Linked DNA regions of Homo sapiens: all the other regions are linked to region 2. Evidence: promoter capture Hi-C in 16 types of primary human blood cells and fetal thymus (Javierre and others, 2016). All regions are on one chromosome and are shown on one strand. Each heading gives the region's core, a stretch centred on a gene start or on the middle of the fragment in contact. The rest is flanking DNA. Distances are from core to core; before and after follow the strand shown.

What was found. Contacts are between HindIII fragments. The CHiCAGO score rates a contact against its expected background, and 5 or more counts as called.
Region 1: a contact is called between a fragment that was not itself captured here and the fragment with the promoter of DPH5 in region 2, in 6 of 17 cell types (activated CD4 T cells, non-activated CD4 T cells, total CD8 T cells and 3 more). The highest score is 11.2, in activated CD4 T cells.
Region 3: a contact is called between a fragment that was not itself captured here and the fragment with the promoter of DPH5 in region 2, in 8 of 17 cell types (activated CD4 T cells, non-activated CD4 T cells, naive CD8 T cells and 5 more). The highest score is 16.0, in activated CD4 T cells.
Region 4: a contact is called between a fragment that was not itself captured here and the fragment with the promoter of DPH5 in region 2, in 8 of 17 cell types (activated CD4 T cells, non-activated CD4 T cells, total CD8 T cells and 5 more). The highest score is 14.1, in activated CD4 T cells.
Region 5: a fragment that was not itself captured here is called in contact with the fragment with the promoter of DPH5 in region 2 in 4 of 17 cell types (non-activated CD4 T cells, activated CD4 T cells, total CD8 T cells and 1 more); the score reaches 8.8 in non-activated CD4 T cells.

What each region holds. Positions count from the first base shown.
Region 1 is chr1:100,914,725-100,918,856 of GRCh38, reverse strand. It overlaps SLC30A7 (solute carrier family 30 member 7), which reads right to left. Exons shown (of 11, transcript NM_133496.5): 7 at 730-780. Among named protein-coding and RNA genes, the nearest start is that of SLC30A7, 21 kb to the right of the region's middle. The HindIII fragment of the contact is 414 bases long and covers 1,411-1,824 here.
Region 2 is chr1:101,023,670-101,027,852 of GRCh38, reverse strand. It overlaps DPH5 (diphthamide biosynthesis 5), which reads left to right and starts at 2,069. Exons shown (of 8, transcript NM_015958.3): 1 at 2,069-2,170; 2 at 2,387-2,544. The coding sequence starts at 2,410. DPH5-DT (DPH5 divergent transcript) reads right to left here and starts at 2,007. Exons shown (of 5, transcript NR_109849.1): 1 at 1,792-2,007. RefSeq lists a silencer at 287-346 and enhancers at 2,138-2,247, 1,340-2,539. The HindIII fragment of the contact is 3,765 bases long and covers 1-2,935 here.
Region 3 is chr1:101,107,400-101,111,322 of GRCh38, reverse strand. No RefSeq gene overlaps it. Among named protein-coding and RNA genes, the nearest start is that of DPH5-DT, 84 kb to the right of the region's middle. The HindIII fragment of the contact is 2,977 bases long and covers 984-3,923 here.
Region 4 is chr1:100,934,929-100,938,943 of GRCh38, reverse strand. The region is part of intron 8 of SLC30A7 (solute carrier family 30 member 7); the gene reads right to left. Among named protein-coding and RNA genes, the nearest start is that of SLC30A7, 41 kb to the right of the region's middle. The HindIII fragment of the contact is 2,736 bases long and covers 1,152-3,887 here.
Region 5 is chr1:100,898,889-100,902,795 of GRCh38, reverse strand. All of the region lies in intron 2 of SLC30A7 (solute carrier family 30 member 7), which reads right to left. Among named protein-coding and RNA genes, the nearest start is that of SLC30A7, 4.8 kb to the right of the region's middle. The HindIII fragment of the contact is 6,699 bases long and covers 1-3,907 here.

The sequences.
Region 1 (4,132 bases), core at 368-2,867, 110 kb after region 2:
TCATGATGCTGGGCAGCAACAGCAGGCGGCAGCTCCCAGTCAGCCAAGCAATCACAAGGGTAAACAACTGATACTGTACTCTACAGTGGACTGTATTAAATAAATTACATGAGATATTCAACACTTTATTATAAAATAGGCTTTGTGTTAGATGATTTTGCCCAACTGTAGGCTAATGCAAGTGTTCTGAGCACATTTAAGGTAGGCAAGGCAAAACTATGATGTTCGGTAGGTTAGGTGTATTAAATGCATTTTCAACCTACAGTATCTTCAATTTACCACGGGTTTATTAGGACACAACCCCACAGTAAATCAAGAAGCATCTATACAATGTTTATAGTCACAGGCATGGGTATTACTTATATTCAAGCAGAATAGTTTCCGAATCTTTTTGAGATACGAGTCTCATATGTTCCCCAGGGTGGTCTCAAACTCTTGGGCGCAAGCAAGCAATTCTCCTGAGTAGCTGGGATTGTGGGGACATGCCAAGTGCACCCAGCTCTATATTTTGCTTTTATTATCAAATCAGAGAAAACAGTCAAGTGACAATTAAAAGAATGTCTGCTAATATATCTAATAGTATATAAAAAACAATCACTAGAAAGGCTAACACTAAACACAAACACTATGTTTTATATTTTTCTTAAAGGAAAACTTCAGACAACTAAAACTTCAAAACTATAAAAGCAGTTTCAAAAAACTAAGAAACATAAAAATTGCTTGTCATACCTTGTAAAATCTGTCTGCTGGGTCCTGTTGTTTCTTTTAAGGACGGGCCATCTGTAGAGAATTAAGTTATTTTAAAACATGTTTTCAATTCCTCATTCAAGTTTTTACAATTCAGAGTCCTTTTCATTCAAATGCATCATCAAGAATGCATGGCTATATAGCCATATCAAACTTACAAATTTATTTTTTAAATTTAATAAAATAATTGAGTGGAGGTAAATTTAGTGGCAGTAGTTTTAAAATTCATCAAAAGTATGGAGTATTTCAGAAATTATTGTATTAAAAAGATTAAAAGCACAGGAAATTAAAGACATTGTGAAAATCTTCCAGTATTCATAAAATATCTTTTAATACTCTTACAATTGGAAAATTCAGAGAAACCCAAATGTACTGCTTGAAGTTATGAGGTCCAAGAAATGAAGCCAGGATAGAAAGATAACTTGACTATGGTAAACAGTAGTTTTCAACAGCTTCTAGATTAATGTGGCAAACTCTTGATACAGAAGAGATAAAAATAATTTTTTTCATTTTGCTTTTATGATGACAAAATGCTATAATTTCTATCTCTAAACATCTTGAAAATTACTATTCAGCTTTAACATTAAAACAGAAAATATAGGAAAACAAGGCAAAAGATGAGCAATATTTGTTTAAACAGATCATCAGGAAGACTGACAAGCTTTCTGATCACAACTAACAATGTACCTACTATCATCATTTGTTCATGGCCCACAGCACCAAAAAGGTCAAGGTACCCTTATCAGTACAGCTTTGATAGAGCATTATAACAATGTTCTGCAATAATGTAACAAAGAAATATAAAAGCATAACACCATATAATATTTCCTATCTAGATATTGTACTGCTGTATGGGAATGAAGAAGTAGCTACCCTGAAAAATCCAGCTGATAGCCAAAAGTGTAAGAGATATGCAGTTTTTCAACATTATTTTGGGATGCATGTGAGCAAAAAAGTTGGAAAAGCAAGGTTTTAAAGCATACCAGTGTAACTGTTATAAAAATACAGGATATTTTAGAGACTGACACAGGCAACAGGCAAAAATAGACAAGAAGGATTACATCAAATTAAAAAGCTTCTGCAAGGCAAAGGAACCAAATAACAAAATGAAAAGGCAACTTACAGAATGACAGAAAATATTTGCAAACTATGTATCTGATAAAATATATACAGAACTCACAATCAACAGCAAAGGTAAATAAATAACCTGATTTTAAAATGGTCAAAGAGTTACAGAACGACAAACATTGCATGTTCTCACTTATTTGTGGAGTACAAAAATTCAAAACAATTAAACTCATGGAAGCAGAGAGTAGAAGGATGGTTACCAGAGGCTGGGAAGGGTAGTGTGGTGCTGCAGGAGTGAGGATGGTTAATGGGTACAAAAAAAAAAAAAAAAAAAAAAGAATGAATGAATAAGATTTACTATTTGATAGCACAACAGGGTGACTACAGTCAATATTAATTGTACCTTTCAAAATAACTAAAAGAGTGTAACTGGATTGTTTGTAATACAAAGGATAAATGCCTGAGGAGAAGGATACCTCATCTCCATGATGTGATTATTTCACACTGCATGCCTGTATCAAAACATCTCATGTACCCCATAACAATATACACCTACTGGTTGGGCACAGTGGCTCACACCTGTAATCTCAGCAGTTCGGGAGGCCAAGGCAGGTGGATCACGATGTCAGGAGATTGAGACCATCCTGGCTAACACGGTGAAACCTCGTCTCTACTAAAAATACAAAAAGTTAGCTGGGTGTGGTGGCACACGCCTGTAATCCAGCTACTCGGGAGGCTGAGGCAGGAGATTCACTTGAACCCGGGAGGCAGAGGTTGCAGTGAGCCGATATCGCACCACTGAACTCCAGCCTGGGTGACAGAGCGAGACTCCATCTCAAAAATAAATAAATAAATAAATAATAAGAATATACAGCTACTATGTACCCACAAAAATTAAAAATAAAAAAATTTATTAAAAAAATAAAAAAGTAATAAATGGCCGAAGGAATAAAATAGACATTTCTCCAAAGAAGACATACAAATAGCCAACAGGTACATTAAAAGATGCTCAACATCACTAATCATCAGGGAAATGCAAATCAGAATCACAATAAGATATCATATCATACCTGTTAGGATGTCTATTACCAAAAAAGCAAAAGACAGTAAGTGTTGGGAAAGCTGTAGAGAAAAGGAAACCCTTGTATACTACTGGTGGCAATGTAAACTGGTGCAGACACTATGGAAAACAGTATGGAGGGTCCTCAAAAAAACAATAATGGAACTACCGTATGATCAGCAAACTGGGTATATATCCATGAGAATTGAAATCAAGAGCTCAAAGAGATATCTGCACTTCCGTATTCACTACAGCATTATTCACAATAGCCAAGACATGGAAGCAAGCTAAATGTCCATCAACAGATGAATGGATAAAGCAATGTGGTATATACATACAACGGAATATCATTCAGCCTTAAAGAAAGAAAGAAATCCTTCTAATTTTGACACATGAATGATCCTGAAGGACATTATGCTAAGTGAAATAAGCCAGACACAGAAGGACAAATACTACATTTATATCACTTATATAAGGAATCTAAAATAGTCAAACTCATAGCAACAGAGAATAGAATAGTGGTTGCCAGTGGTTGGAGGAAGTTGGAAAAGGGGAAATATTAGTCAAAGGGTACAAAGTTTCAGTTGTGCAAAATAAATAGGTCCTAGGGATTTGTATGGCATAGTGCCCATAGCTAATACTGTATTGTATACTTAAAAATCTGCCAAGAGTGTAGATCTTATGTTAAGTGCTCTTACTGCAAAAGTAGAAAGAAAGAAAGAAAGGAAGAAAGAAAGAAAGAAAGAAAGAAAGAAAGAAAGAAAGAAAGAAAGAAAGAAAGAAAGAAAAGAAAGAAAAGAAAAGAAAAAAGAAAAGAAGTGAGGAAGGGAGGGAGGGAAAGAAAGAAGAAAAGAAAAGAAAAAAGAAAAGAAAGAATTGAGAGTAGGAGGAAACTTTCAGTGGGAACGGATATGTTTATTGGAGAAATCATAGTGATGGTTTCATGGGTGCATACTTACCTCAAACTCATCAAGTTGTATACATTAAATATTTATCTGTTTTCATATGTCAATCATATCTCAATAGAGTAGTTAGAAATTTTTTTTTTTTTAGACAGAGTCTAGCTCTATTGTCCAGGCTGGAGTGCAGTAGCGTGATCTCAGCTAACTGCAACCTCCGCCTCCTGGGTTCAAGCTATTTTCTTGCCTCATGGAAAAATTTCAAAGACTGAAAAATGAAGGGCTTAGAAGGCTCACTCTTCAAGGTCCCTTTCATATTTTCAATTCTAAAGCTTTAGGATTCTGTCTATGTTGCAAA
Region 2 (4,183 bases), core at 820-3,319:
GAGAAAGCTCATGGTATGGAGTGGAGAGAGATGATGCTAAAAAGGTAGGCAGTGGCCACACCACGAATGATCTTGTGGGGTATGTTAACAAACCTGGACTTTCTCTTGGCCTCAGAAGGATCTAGAAGGGGTGTAATATTTTCAGATTGTTAACTATAACTCTCTGACCCCCTTGAGTGAAGGAGACATTATTATCAGCTACAAGAGTGACAAAATGAGGACCTGAGAATCAAGATGGTGATAGACGGTATGGTTTCTATTGAGATATACAGGCAGACATGACAGACGATGTGGGGGTGACTCCCAAGTGTCTGGCTGGGGTTAATCTGTTGATGACAATACTCTCCTCACCCACCCCCACCCCCGACCCATCCAAGTAGATAATATGGAAAGAAAAGCAAAATGGAAAGGGAAGGTGATGGATTCAACCTTGGATGTGTTGAATATGCTTCCGGGTTATCTAGGTGAAGATTTCCAGCAGAACGTTAACATGAAGCCAAGAGGGAGGAAGTCTGGATAGGAGGCTGAAATTTGAATCTACAAAATATTAGCGATACTAGGAATTCTGAGTGAACAGCCAGTTTTTGTGAGGTTTTGTTTGTTTTACTTAAGCCATTCTAATAGGTGGGTTGTGGTAGCTCATTGTGATTTAAATGTTTATTTTCCTAATGTCTAATGATGTTTAGGATCTTTTTTTGTTTGTTTAAGATCTTTTAAAATAATTATTTGCTATTTGTGTATCTTCTTTGGTGTCTATTCAAATCTTTTGCCCATTTTTAAACAACGAACTGTTTTATTATTGCTTTCTGAGTGCTCCTTATATATTCTCCATACAAGTCCTTCATCAGATACATGCTTTGTAAATATTTTCAGTATGTGGCTTCAAGTCTTTTGAAGAGCATAAATTTTTACTTTGTTGAAGTCCAATTTATCAATTTTTTTCATCACGCTTTTGGTTTAAGAAATATTTGCCTAAATAAGGTCACGAATATTTCCTCCTATGTTTTCTTCTGGTATAGGTTTAGGTTTTCCATTTACATCTACGATCCATTTTGAGTTTTTTGGGGTGTGTATGTGGTGTGAGGAATAGATCAACGTAATGAGAGGGGATAAAACACAGCCACGAAGAGTTTATAGATAGGAAGTGCAAAAAGGTGGATGGAACCTGGGAATGAAAAAAAGCCAAGGTTCAAGGAAGCGGAGTTGGGCATTGTCGGGGAGGCAACAGGAAAATTCTGAGTAACCAACACTGCCTGCTAAGAAAAGCAATGACAGCTGTCTTTTTTAACTTGGATGAGGTCACCTTGGGAAGAGCATTTTCAGTCAAAACAAATCTTCCCTATTTCTAATTACATGTAACCAACAGCTTTATAAGAATTCCCCCGGCAGAAACACTTGAGAGGTCTGAAATCCCTGAGCACTATTAAAGGTCACTTCTTTAGGTACAGGAAGGTCTGGGATTCCTGACACTGAGGGTGACTGAAACATCCTTGGGGCACTCCAGGCATAAGGTCTTGGGGACAAACCCAAGGAGTCATTGCCTTGTTGGGAAATCAGAAGCACACTCACTGCTGGGTTTGCCAATCTCACGCTTCACCAGGAAGACACCTAGTTGAACTACAGGAGGATGAGAAGACTGGAATTAAAATCTGTGCACTCGGCCAAATCCGGGGACAAATCAGGAAAATCCTTCCCAGCCCTCCCTGTTTCTGGAGAGGAGGAGTAGGGCGCAGGGCCCCTCCCGACTCTCTTCCACGTGGCTCCTCTCGAGCGAAGAGCTACTGCACTTACCCAGGCTTAGGAAGCGGGTGTTTAAGCCATGGGTTAGAGGGCTCGTGAGCACGCCCGATCCTTTCCCTGAGGCTATGAAACGGTGGCTCCACGGACTCCTCTCGGCCGACTGACCTTTCGCCGCCCTGCCCCAGCAGCCGGCGGGTTTCTTCAGTGGAGCCGGGCTCTGGTCTCCGCAGCCCAGTAGCCCGCTAGCCCGGCCCCCTCCCGCTAGTCGTAAAGTGCAGTAAAGGCACCAGCATTTTGCGGCACCGTAGGTGAGGCCGGCGGCGTGGGCCTTTTCTCTGCACGGAGCCGGCGCTTTTGCAGTTGCTTCTGCGGAAAGGTGGTAGTTAAGAATTTGTAAAGGCCAGAGAACTACCTACGATTCTCTCAGCGGGTAATTGGCTGCTCCTAGGTTTGTGTAACAAGAGGCAAAACTGGTAGGGTTGTTTAAAACCTCTTATCCCAGTTCTTAAGCGTGACATAAGGTTCCCAAACCCCTCCTTGTGACTTGCCTCTTCTCTTGTGCTACTTTGGTTGTCATCGTGTTCATCACTAGATTTTAGATGTCCTCGGTGTTACTGACGGTTTTTCTGTCCACTTCGTCTTGCAGTCTCTCTTCTCCTCAAGTTTGAAATGCTTTATCTCATCGGGTTGGGCCTGGGAGATGCCAAGGACATCACAGTCAAGGGCCTGGAAGTTGTTAGACGCTGCAGTCGAGTGTATCTGGAAGCCTACACCTCAGTCCTAACTGTAGGGAAGGAAGCCTTGGTAGGTGCTGAGCGTTCCCCAGCCTCCTGGGAAGAAAGCTATCTAACATCTGATTTTCATACACTAAGCTGAACAGAATTTTCAGGTCTGCTTGTTTAAACCCTTTGAAACGCATCCCTTGTTCATTAATGATCTGAGGAGCAGAAGAATGGAAATTTTACACCAACCAAGTGACTTGGAAAATGAAAGGGTGCTTTGTCCTATTTTACAAGTCTAATTTTGTGGCTTTCTCCAGTAAATAGGAAAGCTATTTTATACTCCTGGGGGATAGTTATCAAAACCCCTTATTTCATGAGGTAGTCAAGAAACCCTTTCTGAGTTGAGTGCTAATGAGGAGCTGACACAGCCTTAATGAGTTGGTTATATATATTCAAAAACCAAGCTGAAAGCTTCCCCCTTTGAAGTGTGTCCATAGGGAATGGCGATTGCCTTTTTGTATCCTATCCAGAGAGATCTTATCTTAAATAGACTATCTCCCAATAAGGCTTATACTGATACACTTGTATATATTGAGTGAGCCTGGACTTAATATATAAAAATGTATGAGTATACACTTACATGAGTATACACTAAGTAACCAAAGTATTTGTTAGTATATTATACATTTATAGTTGGCCCTCATAAGGGCCCAGTAAATTTGGGGGAAGGGTCAACTTCAGGTTCATTGTCAAACTCTAAGTAGAATGTAAATCAAAGGATTAATACATATGTTATGGGAGGAGGGAGCAGATTTATTGTCATGTCTTCCAAACAAAAAATAGACTTAAAATTTTTAGGCCTCAGATTACTTTAAAATCTTATAGAAGGAATTAAGAACTGCTACTTGAATTGGCCATGCATTTAAATAAAAGTTGTGTGTAAAGACCAACTTTGATATATACATATATGTGGAGAGAGAGAGAAAATAAGTCTTGCTCTGTTGCCCAGGCTGGGGTGCAATGGTATGATCATGGCTCACTGCAGCCTCAGCCTCCTGGGCTCAAGTATCCTCCCACCTCAACCTCTCGAGTAGCTGAGACTACAGGTGGGTGCCATCATGCCCAGCTAATTTTTTGTATTTTTTGTAGAGACAGGGTTTTGCCACATTGCCCAGGCTGGTCACAAGTTCCTGGACTCTAGTGATCTGCCCACCTCGGCCTCCTAAAGTGCTGGGATTGTATAGGCACAAGCAACCACACCCAGCCTAAGGCCAGCTTTGATTTAAAAAACATTTTTTTTTCTCATTTTTTCACTCTTAGGATAGAACCAAAATATCTAAGCTCGAAATGATGGAAATGTGCGTCTCTAATCAGTGATTAAGGAAAAGTAAAAGGAACTTAACACCTTCAAGAAAAGACAGACAAATAACAAAACAGCAGTTTGATAGAATGAGATATCAGGGGATGGCATAGAGGAAAGTTTGGTTATAGTTTTATCTTTGTTACATGTTAATGTGACCTTGGACAAGTCCTTTAACTTTAGTGTCTTTTTTAAATGGGGTAAAAAACATCTACTTTAGGTGTTCAGCATAATTCTTAGCATAGGTTCTTAACTATGGTATATGGCACAAAACTGTTCAGAAATAGAAATTGTCAATGTTCACATTTCCAAACTTCTCTGAACCTCAGTTTCTTCATTTGTCAAGTGGCAATTACCAGTT
Region 3 (3,923 bases), core at 1,223-3,722, 83 kb before region 2:
TTTGCTTTGTTACTATTGGGCCAGTGTTCAATTGACATATTTATTTTATTATCCTGTAATTATCACTCATGGAACTATCTTTCCTTCCCAGATTATAAGCAATTGGAAGAGCAGGGGAAACTTCTTTATTCTGAAATATTTTATTCTAGAGCCTAGCATAGTGATTGGTGATCAGAAAGAGCTCAATAAAGGCCAAAAGAAATAAATGAAAGGAAGAAGGCATGCATGTGTGGACTCATGTGGTATGTGTATACTAGGCTATGAAAAGCGGCATTAAAACAAAGAGATGTTTTCAGATAAAATTGTCAGGGTGGTACTCTGGACTCTCTCCCGTGACTCTTTTATTTCTCTCGTGAAATTAGGCTGATATTTATCATGGCACTGCCTTATACATCTCTCCCTACCTTTAGGCCTGACCCCTCAAAGCAGTGTGGGACATAAGAACCAACACTGAAGCATAGTCTGGGGGGTCAAAGGCTGGCTCAGAATGTAGTCACTTGAGATAAAATGGCAAGAAGAAGACGGAATAAACTGTGTGTAAGGAGGAACACTGAGGCTCACAGGTGAATGGACCAAATCCACGGTGAGGTGTTTCCGAGGCAAGTTCTAGGCTAGAAATGGGAGCAGAAGGCAGAGTTTGTAGTCTAGGTATGCAATGAGGAAATAATAATTGGGGAAAACAAGGGAGAAGAGGTTTTAGAATCTGGGATTGATAAGGGCTACTTTCCTGAAGTTCCTCCATTTTGAGTGCAGCTTGGGTAAAAGGCAGGACACAGTCAGGGTACAAAGGCACTCCCTCAGCTTGACTTCTGGAGTTTTCTACAGTCTCATCTTTGTCTACATGCTCTATTCAATGATGCATGCTTCATTCATTTATTAAACAATCATGTTTCATTGCCTATGGTGAACCAGGCACTAAATGCATGTGTTAAGGGGAGAAAACACAACTGTAAACGAGCAACAGTCCCAGCACTCAAGAAGCTTCCAGTCCAAAAGGAAAAACAGACATATAAACAAATAATGAGTATGGAAGCGATCTAGGGAAGTATGTACAGGTGCTATGGGAGCTCAGAGGAAATCTTTGCTTGAGTCTACTTGGGAAGGTGGTGGTTGATATGGGAAGGTCTTCAGGGAAAATTCAGTAAAACTGAAACTGGAAGTTTGGAGTAGAAGTTTACCAAGCAAACAAGAAGGACAGCAGTGATTGAAGCAGGTAGAAAGATTAACTAAACAGCAACATATTAAAAGCTAAGTTACATGAAAATGGAGGATATATTCAGAATTTAGGTAGCCCAGATAAAATGGGAATAAGTCGTGAGATATATGGCTGACACTGCAATTAATGGCCTACACTTGATATCCTATGGTGAGGCAGGGTGAGGGTAGAAGGCCATACAGATTTGTCCCCTTTTGTGAAGCCTAGCAGGCATCTTTCACCAGTGGGTCCTTTTCACCTGCACCTTTGTGCATCAGCACCTAACTCTTTTGCAAGATAGGTGATCCTACATTATATGAGCAGACCACCAGATGGTTACAAGTTTCTGATACCCAGGATGGCCCGGGAAAGAGAACAGAAGCCCCATATTCCTGATGTAGCTTCCCCCATCTCCAGCCAATCAGCACCAAAAGCCCAAGAAGCTATTAGCTACAAATTCCTGCCTGGAGGTTGGGGGACAGGGACTTCTCCAGGATCCCACATATGCAACAAGTGTCAAGTTTTAGCTTATATTAATAGTAACATTTTCCTCATTTTAATAGTAAAAAAGACAGCCCTAGGTGGAGATTTTATTTGCTAATGTTACATGTGATACCTGTTAAAGCATGTAGATACTGAGTACATGTGCCAGCTGCAGGTCTACCTTTACATACTTGACCTCACCAGTATTTTATGAATATGTATGTACCACTCCCATAAAAGAAATTCCTCCTAAGGCACTAACTGCTGTCTCTCCCTTGGAGTAACCCATTCTGCCTCTCAAAGTGCACTTTTGCTTTGCAATAAACTTCTTTGCTTACTCTTACTTTGGACTCATTCTCAAATTATTTTGTGAAGCAAAAACAAGAACCTGAACTGGCTTACTGGCAACAATGGGACCTACTAAAATTAAACTAAACTGCAAGATAAGTTGGGTGGTGAGAAATACAGATACCATGAATTTGAACCAAGATATTAGCAAAAGGGAAGGGAGGAAGGCACACATTCAAAAAGCAAGATGGAGGAAGAATTGACAGAATGTAGTGGTATGACAGCATGTGTAGGGTAAGATATGGAATGATCATCTATGAATCCTGAGTTTCTGGATTATGTGACTAGATTGGATAGTGGTGCATTTATCAATATTGGGAAAACAGGAGAAGTAGCAGGTGTGGAAGAGATGAGTTCAGTTTTATACATATTGAGCTTGAGCTCAACCTCAGAACGCCCCAAACTGAATGCATTGATGTAGGAAACCATGTGAAGAGGCTAGTTAGGTAATTGAAAATACGGCGGGGTCATGACCTGAATGCAACACTCTTCTCTAGTTCTGCAAAGAATGTGGAATGCACTCTTACCTTTTGATTCCGACAAGGCTGTTTCACACATGACTTATTCACAAAGGTTCATCATATATTAATATTTCACTCTTCAATGCCAATACTCACTTTTATTTCTTGTTTAATGCCTAATTCAACATAAGAGTTTTGGCTAAAGGAAGAGTAAAGTCCCTTCTAATGTTGTGATATGTATGCTTGAGTAAAACCTATGCCATTAACAAAATTCAAAATTATTTTTAAAAGACGAAAACATATGTTTCTGCTTCTTGCTATGTAAAAGACACTTAGCCAGTTTCTTCTTGGGGAATTAACTGTGTAGTCTTAAAGTGAGAACTAAGACTTGGGCAGCCCAGCACATGAGTGAGGTGAGTCAGATGGTTGCTCATGGCACTTCGTAGGTATGAGTGATGCCAGGACTGGAGGACGGTGGCAGCAGTGGTGGTGGCACCCTGATCAGACCATCCAGCGTGGATGCAATAACTCCCAGCTGCTTCATGCTTTTTGGCTCTGGTGACCTTTTGGTTCCTGCCTATTTACAAGCCTCCCATGCCCCAGTCTCCTCTAAGTTCTGTGACCCTGAAGCCTTCTCTAGAAATTCCCTTCACTTCAGTTAGCCAATTAGTTTCTGCCACTTTTGATAAGAAACCTGGCTGAACATCAGAATAAATTAAGTCATTCAATCAATAAGAAAATACTATTTATTTCCTAAGTAAATCTACAATTGAAATAAAGTAATGATTACTACTAAACCCATGGAACATAGCCCATAATCAGAAAAGACCTTAACAGTGAGTTAGTTCTTTTTAAAAGATGATTTTATTCGCTTATCTTTAATTCACTGCAAGACACATTGCTTCCTGTCTGGTTTATACTCTCTACAGTGAGTCAGGCATAGGTAGGATGTTTCTAGTAAAACCTGTTAAGCTGATTAAGGAGTAATTTCAATAGCATTTTTTATTTTGTTTTAAATTATAAAAGATTTATTTTTCTGCAGGTCAATATCTGAATAGGAAAGGGATATCACTCTTATAAATTTAGTGTGTGTTAGAACATGTGACCTATGAGTGAGAACAGCATGTTCTCACCCATAGGTGGGAACTGAGCAATGAGAACACATGGACACAGGAAGGGGAACATCACACACCAGGGCCTGTGGTGGGGTGGGGGGAGTGGGGAGGGATAGCATTAGGAAATATACCTAATGTTAAATGACGAGTTAATGGGTGCAGCACACCAACATGTCACATATGTAACAAACCTGCACATTGTGCACATGTACCTTAAAACTTAAAGTATAATAAAAAAAAAATTTTTAGTGTATGTTTTTTTCACCCTACTGCACTTGCTCAGGCCTCTAGAACAAGGCTGAATATAAGTGGTGATAGTGA
Region 4 (4,015 bases), core at 1,270-3,769, 89 kb after region 2:
CTACCTATTGGGTACTATACTCTCTCTACCTGGGTGCAATATACCCATGTAACAATCCTGCACATGTACCCCTTCTATCTAAAATAAAAGCTGAAATTGAGAGACAGAGACATTATTCCAGGTAAGCCTGATTTAATCAGATGCAAAGCCCTTAACAGATAGACTGGAGCTCTCCCTGAGATCAGATGCTCTCTTGCTGACCTTGGAAAGGTAAGCTGCTATGTGTTACACAGCTATAATGAAACAAATTCTGCCAACAGCCATATAAGCTTGCAAGATGGTCCTGAGCCTCAGATGAAACTATGGCCCCAACCAACACTTCAGTTGCAGTCCTGTGAGACCCTGAACAGAGGAGACAACTAAGCTGTGCCCAGACTCTTGATCACAGAAACTGTGAGATAATAAATGAGCATTGTTTTAAGCTGGAAAAATTGTGGCAATGTGTTATGCAGCAACAGAAAACTAATACACATGGCAATTCTTCAGTCTAGTAAAAAGAAACAAGTAAGTTTAACGAAGTGTGATAGATGTTAGAAATGCTTAGGGGACAAAATAAAAAAACAGTTAATTCTATATAGTAGTTTACAACAGGCTTCACAAAGGAGATGCCCCTTGAGATGAATTTTATAAGAGGTATTCAAAAGGTAGACATTAGCTACCTATCAAAATCCCAGTGACATTTTTTTCTAGAAATAGAAAAATCTATCTTAAAATTCCTATGGGATCTCAAGAAACCCATAATAGTCAAAACAATCTTGAAAAAGAACAAGGTTGCAGGTCTCACACTTCCTAATTTCAAGTTACTACAAAGCAATAAAAACAGTGTGGCACTGACATAAAAACAGACATATAGACCACTGGGATAGAACAGACAGCCCAGAAATAAACTCTGACATACATGGTTAAATGGTTTTCAACATAGATGCCAAGGCAATTCAATGGGGAAAGGACAGACTTCTCAATAACTGGTGATGGGAAAACTGGATTTTTACATGCAAAAGAAGGAAGCTGGACCCTTACCTCACACCATATATAAAAATTAACTCAGAATAAAATGTAAGACCTAAAACTATAAAACTCTTAGAAGAAAACATAGGAGAAAGCTTCATGACATTGGTTTGGTTGATTTCTCAGATATGACACCAAAAGCTTAGGAAACAAAAGAAAAAACATGAAAATTAAGGCAAATCATGGAAAAAGAGAAAATATCTGCATATTATACATCTGATAAAGAGTTAATATCCAGAATATATAAAGAACACCCACAATTCAACAACAACAAACAATTTAAAAATGGACAAAGTATTTGAATAGACATTTTCCCAAAGATATACAAAATGGCCAATAAGTACAAGAAAAAATGTTCAACATCAGTAATCATTAGGGAAATGCAAATCAAAACAATAAGACCACTTGATACGCATTACGTTAATGGGTTTTCTGGTAGATAAAAACAGAAACAAAAAACAAAAATAAAAACAAAAACAAAACAAAACAGAAAATAACAAGTTTTGGAAAGCATGTGGAGAAATTACAACCCTTCTGCATTGTAGGTGAAAATGTAAACTGGTGTGGCAGCTATGGAAAAGAGCATGGCAGTTTCTCAAAAAATTAAAAACAGAATTACCATATGATCCAGCAATTCCACTTCCAAGTAAATACTCAGATGTTTAAATAAATAATTCAAAACCTCCCACAGATGTTTTGAATTATTGACACAAATTTGCAATTGAGCAGTTTCTTACATGGGTACATAGTATGTCTGCAGGTAGTAATAGCAGATTTTTATTTACTTTTAACATTGATTTATTTCTTAGGAATACTGAGAAGGTAAATAAATAATAAGAACATGTAAAATGCTAAGCAAAAATGAAGAGCTACACAGGCATTCCTACATGCATAGATATAGATATAGATACAGATAATCTATGTGTATGAGTATGAGTAAATATACTAAATCTATGTGTATAAGTAAATATTCAGAAGTGGAATCATTCAGTCTTAAAAAGAAAGGGTATTCTGACATATACTACAAAGTGAATGAAACTTGAGGACATTATTGTAAGTGAAATAAACTAGTCACAAAAGGCCAAATATTGTATGACTCTACTTTTATAAGGTACCACTTATATATTTCACAACTTCATAGAGACAGAAAAAATAGTGGTTGCTAGGGGCTGAGGTGCAGGGTGAATTGGGAGTTATTGCTTAATGGTTACAGAATTTCAGTTCTGCAACATGAAAAGAGTTCTGTGGATGGATGGCAGTGATGGCAGCACAACAATGTGACTGTACTTAATGCCACTGAACTGTATACTTAACAGTGATTAAGATGGTAAATTTTATATTATGCTTATCACAATTATTTTGAAAAGGTAGACATTAGTAGGCAAGATTTTCTAAGGAAAAGATACTTGATGAGCAGAGATACAGAGGTATAAGCTAACTTAACATGCTCTAAAAAGTGCAAACAATTTGGTACCACTGAGACTTAGGGCAGGAGTCTTCAAATTAAGAGTACATATAGGAGTGTGTACTACATTTCACAATTCTGGTGACATTAATCACAAAAAAATACCCTTGGGGATACCCATATACTTTCTGAAAGATGTTTAGAATAGTTATAAGAGAATAAAATATCAGATCCTCCACTTCCATAGGTACTCATTCCAAAACTGACCAGACACCAGACTGAGACAATTGGTCTAGTAAATTAGTAAGTTCTCTATTGCTCCCCTCCCATTTCACAATTACCACTTCAGCCGCTTGACAAAAGAAAAGCATGTAATTCACCCATAGAAAATACTACTATGGTAAACTGTGCCAGAGTTTGAAAATCACTGGAGTAGAAAAAAAAAAAAGAAAAATGAAAAGAAGACAATTTAAAATATTGGTATCTGGTAAGCCTTTAATAAAACCCTTTGTCTCTGCTCATAAACCTGAGGTATAGTTTTATGGCTTCTCTGTTTTATGTAATTCCTATTAAGGGCAAAGAGTGGTATTAGGAACAAGGTATTCTGGCCCATATATTAGGAACGTTCTGAGTTCAGACATATTGTAAAGTGGGATGACTAAAGTAATGATAGGTTTAGTAATAATCCCTCTTCTATTGTCCCCCAGATACTGACAAAGAATATGTCACTCCTGAGAGAAGTCCCAAGAAACCTTTGTCAAACAATAGTAAAAACCCGTATCTCTTTAATGTCATTTATTTACACAATATACAGACCTTAAAATAAAGCTATTAATTTTTTTTAGAGGAAAGCTGGGAGTATTGGTTAAAAAACAGTAAACAGCTTGAACAATTCCAAGCCATCATCAAAGTTGGCTTTAAAAACCTCATATAAAGTATTGTCACTCACTATGATAGTTAAGAAATCACATTTGATAGTGATTATTCCAGTGCATAGGTGATAGCCAAAAATAAGTTAGTCACCAAGTCTATCACTATAGCTCCATTCCCTATTCCAAAACCACTCTGCTTCATAAAATGCATAAAATGGCAGAAGACACACTTCACCAGATTGTAGCAAAAATCGTAAAAAGAACTAGTTTTGGTTTCTGAAAAGTTTAAACTGACTTGCATAAAGCACTGGATGTAACTATTAGAAACATACTAGAATTCATGCCTATAAAAAGTACTATGTGAGGAACCCAGGTTTTGATGCAGTCAAAAGACGGTTGTCATTTGTGTAACTGAAAAATGAAGCAAGACTTTCTCTGACAGAAAGAACTTTCTCTGAAAGTATGATTTGACTGATTGGGTTGACAATGAAGGCTAGTTCTGACAATTAGGTTATATAGAGGGTATTTCTAAAAATAAATGAGCTAAATTTGTAGTGGGAAGGCTTTGATTAGCATATATTAAACACAAATAGTTTGAAGCTTCAAATATGAGCTAAAAATAGAAAATCATGGCACTGAATTTTTTTTTCTTTTTGTGGGACAGAGTCTTGGTCTGTCACCCAGGCTGGAGTGCAGTGGCAGTGGCGTGATCACGACTCACTGCAGCCTC
Region 5 (3,907 bases), core at 698-3,197, 120 kb after region 2:
TAAGGTGAGCCCTCATCCAGTGTCCTTATAAAAAAGAGAAATTTGGAAGAAGATACATAGATCACAATGCGAAGATAAGGCAGAGATCAGGTGATGCTCCTACAAGCCAAAGACTGTCCAAGATTACTAGAAAACCAACTGAAGCTACAGAAAGATCATGGAACAGATTCTTCCTCAGAGCTCTCAGAAGAAATCAACCCTGATGACACTTTGATCTCTGACTTCTAATCTCCAGAACTGTGAGACAATAAATTTCTGTGGTTTAAGCCACCTAGTTTGTGGTGTTTTATTACACCAGACTAGCAAACTAACACACACTCCTTTTTTTCAACAAATTTACTTTATATGCACCCAACATAAACCAAATATTGCCATAATGCAAAAAATAAAAATAAAAATAAAAATTCCTTTTGCACAGAATAGCAGTCAGGTTCCTTTTAAAGAGGTGTGGATATAGCACGGCAATTTTAATACTCATCAAAATGAAATTTTATTTAAATTTTAAGTAAATTTAATTAGCATTAAAATGTTATTTTTAGTACTTAATAAAATGTGACTACCTGAAAAACTACTCCCTCTTCTGAGATGGAAGAACATTATGTTCTCTTAAAACACTGCAATATGAGATCTTTTCCCTTAAACTTGATATCATGATTTAAAAATTACCTAGCTGCAAATACACAAACTCATGGGAAAAACAGTCTACTTTTAGCTCTCTGCTGACCTATCACATGTAAAAATATTGCTTATGAGGAAGGTCAATTTTACTGCTCATATTCAATCTTAGCAAATGTTTCTGATTATGAATTATATTTAAACTATAAATTTAAACTATAAATTTCCTTAAAAAATAAAGGTAGCATAGAGAATACCTAAGGTTACATGACTGAAACACCAAAGGTAACTTCAGTAAACCATGATAAAGTAAAGCTGGTTGTGAAAATCCACTTACTTGTCGTAGACTCCTCTTTAAGCACTGCTAGTTTCTCTAAAATGTATTTGTAAACTCTTTTAAATGACTACCTTCTAAAGACATTTTAACATGGAAAACCAGCCGGGTGCAGTGGCTCGTGCCTATAATCCCAGCACTTCCGGAGGCTGAGGTGGGTGGATCACCTGAGGTCAGAAGTTCAAGACCAGCCTGGTCAACATAGAGAAACTCCCATCTACTAAAAATACAAAAATTAGCCAGGCGTGGCTGTACTCCCAGCTACTTGGGAGGCTGAGGCAGGAGGATTGCTTGAACTCAGGGGGCAGAGGTTGCAGTAAGCCAAGATCGCGCCACTGCATTCCAGCTTGGGCAACACAGTAAGACTCCGTCTTAAAAAAAAGAAAAAGAAAACTTCTACGTGTATAAAGGAGAAACCTGAATACATAAATACAGAAGCAAAAACAGCACAAATGTCAATAGAATATATGGCAAAAGAAACTTTTGAAAAGAATTTTATTTAGGGTCTATTGGAGGCAAAAACAAAGGAAGGGAGAAAGAGAACCTATAAATTAAGAGCAACTTAAGAGACATATAAGCTAAATACTATGTATGGATCTTGTTTGATTTCTAATCTGTAAAACCAAATGTAAAAAGAATTTATGAGACAATGAGGGACTCCTGAATACTCGTTAGCTGGATATTAATGAGTCATTAATTTTCATGGGTGATAATGGTTTTGGGTTATGTTAAGGGGGGGTGGATTTTATCTTTTAGAGAAGCATAATGAAATAGTTATGGAAGAAATTACATCTTGTGTCTGCTTTAAAACAATCCAATGGTGGGACAGGGACAACAGATGAAATAAGATAGACCATGTATTGATAAATGTTAAGGCTCAGTGATGGGTACATGAGGTCCATTAAATGCTCTACTTTTACATATGTTTAAAATACCCAGTGATAAAAAATTGTTTAAAAGGTCTATTGGTAACTAAGCTAACGGTATATTTATATTGTTTGTTAAACGTGTTCAAAATTGAAAATAAGGAATCATCATAATTCAGAAATCCCTTACCAGGTACTTTCCATGATGTGGAAAGTCAGGGAAAAACACTGTCAATTTATTATCAGGAAATTAGAAAATTCTTAGAATCCTGACATTAGCAAAGTCAATAAACTAAATGAGTTACAGTGAAATAACCCAGAACTCCACTACATTCCATTATATAGTCCCTTACTTTAAAAAAAATTCTAAGCAAAATGGAATATTTATCTATGTTTTTAAGGTGGGAAATAAAATTATAGGAAAGCAAAAGCCATCACCATAAGCTGGTAAGTAATGCTGCCTTTTGAGAAGGAAAAAGTTGATTTTAAAAGACTAAGATATATGAAAATTTTAATAGAAAAACATGTGATTGATAGAAGTATTTTTCTTCACTAAGGAATTACTTTACAAACATCTGCTGTGAAATATCACACTGAAGTAGAACCAAATAAATGTCTGGTATTGTCTTAAACATTTCTTCAACAAATATTTACTTTGTTAACACAAAGACATTAACCTTTAGAGTTACCTGAGTGTCTTCTATGTCTAAGGGAAAAATGGTTGCAACAGCTTTGGTAAGAAATACTACTGAAATTAAATCTGTTAAAAATGAAGTAAAAATGTAAGAACATAAAAACACAGAAACTATATTGAGATACTAGAAAAAACCAGTGTGATGTTTTTTGGACATCAAACTTGGACAATAGGTGCTGTAGGCTCTGCTGCTCACTTGGGAAGTAAAAAACTCTAGGCCTCAATTTTCCAACTATAGAAGATGACAGGTTAGTTTGTCTCTCTCTCTCTCTCTCTCAAGTCCCACTTCCAAAACCTACACTATCCACATATTCTCTTTCTTCCTTAGTAAAAAATCCTTGACTTTCCGCAGAATACATGGCTGAGTGGAATAAAGACTACATTTGCAACTAGGCATGACCATGTGATAAAATTTTAGTGAAAGCATTGTGTGTTAGCATCCAGGTAAATCTTAAAAAAAAAAAAAATGTGCACACCTTTTACCTCTTTTTATCTGCATTCCAGACATTATGCTGCCAGGGATGACTGAAACACTAGCACCCATCTTGGAAATGAAGTTTTATCTTGTGTAAGCAACCATTATTTTAGGTTTTTGTTTTGTTTTGAAACAGAGTATTACTCTGTTGCCCAGGCTGTGGGGCGGTGGCTCAATCTCGGCTCACTGCAACCTCTGCCTCCCAGGTTCAAGGGATGCTGGTGTCTCAGCCTCCATGTAGCTGAGATTACAGGTGTGCAGAGTTTTTCTGTAACTTGAAAACAAACTTAACCGTAGATGATACAAAACCACATTGTTACACTATGTTACCTTGAGATTAGTCAGTTACTCAACAATAAATTAGTAAATGAAAAATAAAATACTAGAAGGAAGGGAAAAATCACATAGAATTTCTACCATTTTCCTCCCAATTTCTAAGAGTGAGAGAATGGAATTTAATGTTTTGTCATTGCTGTTTTTCCTTAACGGGGTAGTTACCATTTTTAGTATAGGTAGTGTAATTCCATACATTAATTATTCCCTCATTCTTTCATTTAGCAAATATGTATTAAGCATCCACTATGTGCTATGTACTGAAGTGCCTGCATAAGATAGAAAAGATCCCTACATTAATACAGTTTACGTTCTAGTGGGAAGGTGAAAGGTAGCAGATATTTATTGAGGGGAAAAACACACAACAACTACCTATTGTTCCACTGAAGAGACCTACTCATCATCTAAAATATAAATCAACTATAATTAAGTTCTTCCTTTAAAATGAAGGCTCTGAAAAAGAACCAGAACAATTTAACATTTGTTAAAATTAGATCAACTGCTTCTATGAACCTTTATTTGTGAAGTGAGTGTTTTATTCACGTTTCAGTCCTCTATAGGAAAAAAATTCTTGGTTATTTCATGTTCTC